Linked DNA regions of Homo sapiens: region 2 is linked to region 1. Evidence: promoter capture Hi-C in 16 types of primary human blood cells and fetal thymus (Javierre and others, 2016). All regions are on one chromosome and are shown on one strand. Each heading gives the region's core, a stretch centred on a gene start or on the middle of the fragment in contact. The rest is flanking DNA. Distances are from core to core; before and after follow the strand shown.

Evidence for each region. Contacts are between HindIII fragments. The CHiCAGO score rates a contact against its expected background, and 5 or more counts as called.
Region 2: a contact is called between a fragment that was not itself captured here and the fragment with the promoter of CAND1 in region 1, in 1 of 17 cell types (neutrophils). The highest score is 5.3, in neutrophils.

The regions. Positions count from the first base shown.
Region 1 is chr12:67,267,094-67,270,657 of GRCh38, forward strand. CAND1 (cullin associated and neddylation dissociated 1) reads left to right here and starts at 2,265. Exons shown (of 15, transcript NM_018448.5): 1 at 2,265-2,692. The coding sequence starts at 2,625. RefSeq lists enhancers at 1,401-1,700, 1,841-2,100, 2,380-3,031. The HindIII fragment of the contact is 8,089 bases long and covers 1-3,494 here.
Region 2 is chr12:71,853,085-71,856,418 of GRCh38, forward strand. The region is part of intron 1 of TBC1D15 (TBC1 domain family member 15); the gene reads left to right. Among named protein-coding and RNA genes, the nearest start is that of TBC1D15, 15 kb to the left of the region's middle. The HindIII fragment of the contact is 4,970 bases long and covers 1-3,334 here.

The sequences.
Region 1 (3,564 bases), core at 1,015-3,514:
GATCACCTGAGGTTAGGAGTTATTTAACTCTTAAAACAACCTGAGGTAATATCCTGATCATCATTTACCCACGAAGAAACTGAAGTTGAGAAAGATGAAAATGAATTGCCTATGACACCAAGTAAGTGGCTGTAAACATGATTTATATTTAAGGAATCTGACTCCAAATATTATAGTTCAGCTGGAAATTCAAAAGTGAAAGAATTTACACACAGAAAAAGACAAACCATGATTTGCTTTCTGAGTGGACACAGGCTAAAAGAAAGTATTATTGATAATACCAAATGACTGAGGCCTTGAGGTCCACACATACAAAAAAAGACCTGCTTCTTTGTGTGTGTGTGTGTGTGTGTGTGTTTTACATTAAATATGGTGGAAAGGCTATTCAGAGCAAAAGGCAATTAATTGTGGCTGAAGCACTAAGGACAGTTTGATGAAAGATATATTAATCATGGCAGATTGGTAAAATGAAATATGGCATTACTGGGGAGAAAAAATATCATATATTACGTATATATTATTATTATCATTTTAAGACGTTGTCTCACTCTGTCGCCCAGGCTGGAGTGCAGTGGCACGATCTCGGCTCACTGCAACCTCCGCCTCCTGGGTTCAAGCAATTTTTCTACGTCAGCCTCCCGAGTAGCTGTGACTACAGGCGCGCCACCATGCCCAGCTAATTTTTGTATTTTTAGTAGAGATGGGGTTTCACCATATTGGCCAGGCTGGTCTCGAACTCCTGATGCCCTGATCTGCCCGCCTCGGCCTCCCAAAGTGGTGGGGTTACAGGCATGAGCCACCGCACCCGGCCTTTATATTACATACATTCAAGTAGAAGGATACATGAGAGCAGATCAGAGGTATGTGTGAAATTTAAACACATATTATGAGGCTAAACCAAGTTTCATCTGTTTTATTAACTCCTATTGCCTGACTTTGAAGTACTCAGTAATAGTTGATGAATACAGAAAACAATGGTAAAGGTCAGGTAGATTTGATCGGATTTGAGTTATGTGTTAGTAGAGAGCTATTTAAAGGTTTGTTGTTGTTTTTAACAGGAGTATCAAGTGAGATTGATTTTTCATCTCTTCACCAGGCTCTCTGTTCTTTTAGAAAGGCCTGTCAGCTAGCTCCATCCCTAACACTTTCAGGGATGTTGACCCCTAGCTGGCAAAACTTGTGTTTAAAATCCCAAATATTAAGCAGATGAAAAACTTGGATACTAAATACTTTCATAACTCATCTCCACGAATTTGTACGTCTGAGGGAGCAATACACAGCTGCAGGTCCATCAAGGCCACAAAAGCTAACTACAGAGATAGTCTTTTAGCTATTTTGAAATCAGTAGGGCCTGACTACAGCCATCTGTCGCATACCCATTACTCTTACTAAGGTCCTGCTGGCGTCAGAGAGGTGGTTCTACGATGCACGGTAGGAGTGTGTCTGGCCAGAGAAGTGGGGAGGCTCAGCTGCCTTGGGAGGTGCAAGTAGTAGCGCTAGGAAGCTGCTGCTAGGCCTCTGGCAAGAACACCAACTGATCCGCAATGCGCCTGGCCAAACTGCAGCAGCCTGCTCTGCAAATACTGCATAACAGAAAAAGCCTGTATTGGAGAATATAAGAATCCGCGGCAGAAACGGAGTGCGCGACGATTCTAAGGTTTTTACCCAGCACGGCTCCCCCATCAGACTGCAAATCCCAGCATTCACTCCTTCCACGGGAGCCAATGAGGAAGCTACTAGTTCCCGCAGCCAATCACATTCTGAGCCAGTGTATCACCCGACTGAATTCTGGGATTTGTGGTTTTTACGTGGCAACATTACACCACGGTGGCTACGGCAATGCAGGCCACGCGTCTGATCCCAAACGACACCTCCCTGTTATAAATTCTTATGTTGGTTCCGCAAGCTAACTCCTTAACTGTCGTTACTCCCAGGCTTCCTCCTTCTCAAAGCTCGTAATCTTTTTCTCTTAATGTCATTAAACAATCAAGTTATTTTCAGATTAAGGCCCACTTGCTCCACTCGTCCCCTGTCCCTTAACCGTCGCTTTAGAGTCTCGCGAGAACAGCCCCTTTTTTTTGTGTTGTCATGCCTCCAAAAGGCGGGTCACATGAAAACTGACACAGGCTTCAGCCAACCGAATTGTTTTTTAACTCTCTTCTCCACAGCGTGCGTGGGGAGGCCTCCGTGAACTCTGACCTTAGCTTTCCGTAGCGCCCGCGTCTGCCGCCCCCGCCCCCGGAGCGAAGGAGGCGGGCTTTGGCCTTTTGCCCTAGGGAGCGAGTGCGGAGCGAGTGGGAGCGAGACGGCCCTGAGTGGAAGTGTCTGGCTCCCCGTAGAGGCCCTTCTGTACGCCCCGCCGCCCATGAGCTCGTTCTCACGCGAACAGCGCCGTCGTTAGGCTGGCTCTGTAGCCTCGGCTTACCCCGGGACAGGCCCACGCCTCGCCAGGGAGGGGGCAGCCCGTCGAGGCGCCTCCCTAGTCAGCGTCGGCGTCGCGCTGCGACCCTGGAAGCGGGAGCCGCCGCGAGCGAGAGGAGGAGCTCCAGTGGCGGCGGCGGCGGCGGCAGCGGCAGCGGGCAGCAGCTCCAGCAGCGCCAGCAGGCGGGATCGAGGCCGTCAACATGGCGAGCGCCTCGTACCACATTTCCAATTTGCTGGAAAAAATGACATCCAGCGACAAGGACTTTAGGTGAGGCCGAGATCCGACCCTCACCCCACCTCGGGGTTCTCGCAGCCGCGGCCCTGGCCGTCACGCAGGCCTTGCCCCACCCCTTCGGCCGTAGCCGGTAGCTTCTCTGCCCCGAAGTCTCCAGCCCACCGGTCCGCTGGCCTCCCGATCCCTGCGGAGCCCCTTTCCTCTCCCCTCTTGCAACCCCCTCCCCCCATTCTTTCTCCTAGGCAGTTGCCCGCCGCGGTCTCTAGGCCCCGTTTGCTTGTCTCAGCGCCCCCACATCCTTCCCTGCCCCACCAGGAGGCGATTCTTGCGTCTCAGGTAGCGCGAAGGGGCTAAACCACCCACCATTGTGGAGAAGGGAGTTGCTCTAGGCCGGGAGACCGGGCGCCGGGCCTATTCGCTTGCCATCCTGCGGCGCTAGGCCGCCTTGCTCGCTGGGGCCCAAGCTGCTGCCCACTCGGGGACCCGGCAGCCTCCTCTCTGCCCGCAGGTGCGCGTGGGCCTTGCTGCATTCAGGTGGAATGATGAACTTTTGCGCTCTTGGCTGATACATAGTTCTTTTGTGGATTATTAATTTTCGTGAAGGTGGGAAGAAGGGGGAGGGGAGCCAGGATGGAGGAAACTTCGCTCATAGGGTTTTCCCGCCAGCATCACTGTCAGTTCCTCTTGTCAGGTAAAACCAACTTAGGAACTCGGGGTTTCAGTCTCATGTCCTCATATCCAAAATCACTGCCAAAGGGGTGGATTGCTGGATCTTAATCATAGCAGACGGATCTTCAAAAGGAAGAGATGTTTAATACGGACCTGGTGAATATGAAGCTTTATTACAGCAGTTCTGTTCAGGAGATCGGTACTGTTGGTTCCAAAGTGTTGTAATATGCATAGTG
Region 2 (3,334 bases), core at 245-2,744, 4.6 Mb after region 1:
GTTCTTCAAGTTGTAAAGGAAGTGTGGTGCTGGCATCTGCTCAGGTTCTAGGGAGGACTCAGGAAACTTACAATCATGGCGGAAGGCAAAGAGCGAGCCAACACTTCACATAGAGCAGGAGGAATAGAGAGAGGGGAGGTGCCACATACTTTTAAACAAAATCAGATCTCAGGAGAACTCACTATTGACATGACAGCACCAAGGGAGATGGTGCTAAACTGAGAAACTGCCCCCATAATTCCATTACCTCCCACCAGGCCCTGCCTCCAACATTGGGGATTACAATTTAACATCAAATTTGGGCAGGGACACAGATCCAAACCATACCACCCTCCCAGAGTGCTGGGATTACAGGCGTGAGCCACTGCACCTGGCCGAGTTGTGACTTTAGTGTCTTGAACATATGGGATAGACTTAAAATAATACTTTAATATCCTTCACTACTATTTGTGTTGTTTTGTGGTCAATTGTAATTGATTACTTTTTTTGTTATAGGTCATATTTTCCTGGCTCTTAGCATGCCTTAGTGGTAAATTTTTTACTGGATGTCAGATATGTTGAATTCTCTTTTTGGGTGCTAGATATTTTTGTGTTCTGTAAAATACTATTGAGTTTTGTGTTAGAAGGCACTTAAGTTGCTTGGAGTCAGTTGGGTACTTTTGGGTCTTGCTTTTAAACTTTGCTAAATGGTATCAGCACTGCATTTAGTATAGAACTAATTTTGCCTCACTGATGAGGCAAGGGAGTGCTTTGTGAATTATGAGATTTCCCACTCTGACTGGTGCAAACAGTTATGTGAGCCTGCAGATAGTTTCTTCTAATAGTTTCCCTCTCGCCTTGAAGAGTTTACTGACAAACATGCACTGTTCCATACTCTGCTGAATACTCGAGGAAGACTGCAGATTTCTTGAGTTCCCTGTGTGTTCTTCTCTTTTCTCTGGTACTTTCTCCTGTGAACTCTAGCTGTATTGGCATCCCCTATTTCCCACATCTCTCTCCTCACTGGACACCTTCTGAGTTTTCTCTCCCTTTCCCATAGCTGGGAACACACAACATAAAGCTAGACAATTGTATTGCTCACTTCATTTGGTTCCTTTCTCTCAATAGTCACTATCCTTCATTGTTTGCTGGGGAGTATCATGAAAACTATTGTTTCACAGATTGGTCAGTATTTTTAGTTTAGTTTATTATTATTATTATTTTTCTGGTGGGAGGTTAAATCCAGCCTGTCATTCCATCTTGGCCAGAAGTGGAAGTTTTTATATAGGGTTTCTTTTTCCTTTCTGTTTTTGGTGGAATTAATACCTATCTCTTCTGTACATCTTTTTTCCCCTTCAATCGTAGGCTGAATGTTTGTGTTCCAAATTTGTTCTCTTTGTTGTTATGAACTCTTAAGATGGTTTTTTCTCCCAAGATTTTACCATTTCCTTCTTGTTGGCCTGCATTAATTCTCTTTTCTGTTCTGTACCTTCTGACAGGCGACATTATCAGCAAGATATTCAAGAATTTTAACAGATGGTATGTATTTAGAGAATGTGCCAGTAGATGTTTGGATAGCTGAAGGTCATCATCATATACATAGAGTGGTTTTATACCAGTTTGTAATTTGTATTAAAGTGTCTTTTTTCTTCCTTCTCATTGATAGTCTGTATAATCTTCCAAAACAATTGCATTCCTCTCCCCCCCACCTTCTTTTGCAGATTCGCTTGGTGACAGGTGGTGCTACTTCCTCAAATCTTTGATCTGTTCTTCCCTTTCTTTTTCTCAAGGTATATTTTTTCATTGTTGAATTTGTATCATGTTTTCCATCAGACAAAATTCCTTCAGTACCCTTGAGATTTGATTTAGATCCTATTTAAGACTTTACATTTTGTGTATTAGTCCGTTATCACACTGCTATAAAGAAATACCTGAGACTAGGTATTTTATAAAGGAAAGAGGTTTAATTGACTCACGGTTTCGCATGGCTGGGGAGGCCTCAGGAAACTTCATGGCAGAAGGCGAAGGGGAAGCAGAAGCAAAGCATGTCTTACATGGCGGCAGGAGAGAGAGAGTGCTCAGGGGAAACTGCCACTTTTAAACCATAAGACCTTGTGAGAACTCCCTCACTATCCTGAGAACAGCATGGGGGAAACTGTCCTTATGATCCAGTCACCTCCCACTGGGTTCCTCCCTCAACGTGGGGTTTACAATTTGAGATGAGATTTGGGTGGGGATACAGTCAAACCGTATCATTTTGTGTTTATCACCAGTAATTTTTAGCATTTTTGTTGTAAAAATTCATATAGTGAAAATCATACTTACCATATAGCTGAATGAATCATAAGGCAAACTTGTAATCACAGCTTAGGTTAAAAAATAGACCTTTGCCAGGAGATTGAGACCATCCTGGCTAACACGGTGAAACCCTGTCTCTACTAAAAATACAAAAAAATTAGCCAGGCGTGGTGGTGTGTGCCTGTAGTCCCAGCTACTTGGGAGGCTGAGGCAGGAGAATGGTGTGAACCCGGGAGGCAGAGCTTGCAGTGAGCCAAGATCGCACCACTGCACTCCAGCCTGGGTGACAGAGCGAGACTCCATCTCAAAAAAAAAAAAAAAAAAAAAAAAAAGACGTTTGCCAATAACTCCAGATGACCTTCCACGTACCACCCCTTGTCTCCTAAGAAACAGTTATCCTAACTTTTATCATAATCACTTTCTTGCATTTCTTTATTAGTAGTAGTATTAAAACATAGCTATTGTGTCTTTTTTAAAAAATGGTTCTTCCATATCTTCTACTTAGTATTACTGGGTTTTTAAGAGTTTTGTTTTTCTTAATCAGTTGCACCTTTTGTCTTGTTATTGTATGTGGTTTTTTTTGGGGGGGGGTATCTTGTTCAAATTTCAATTTAAATTCATTTAATCAAATACATTATTTCTTGATTTTAAAAGATTGGACCATACAGAAATTATGGTTCACCCTGCCCCCATACTGCCAAACCACCCAACTTGATTTTGACACTATGTATCCTTTGAGCAGTTTTCGTATTCATTGTTCTCTGCCAGATGAACTGGAAGATGAAATGAAAACGTCATTTATATCCCCATTAGAGATGTATTTTAGATAAGTTTTTGCCATATAATTTGTTCCCTTGTAAAATATCTCAAATTAGTAAGTTGTTAGGCTTGGGGGTCTTATATAGACTTTTAGTAATATCTCAGATATGGTCTGGGAAACTGATTAGGCTATTCCGTTTTTACATATTGATGCCTCTGTATCCCTAAGGTAACAGTCATGAGAATGTATTGCCTATACATTCTTTTGCTGTTTTAGATGCATGGTGCTGATTCTTTG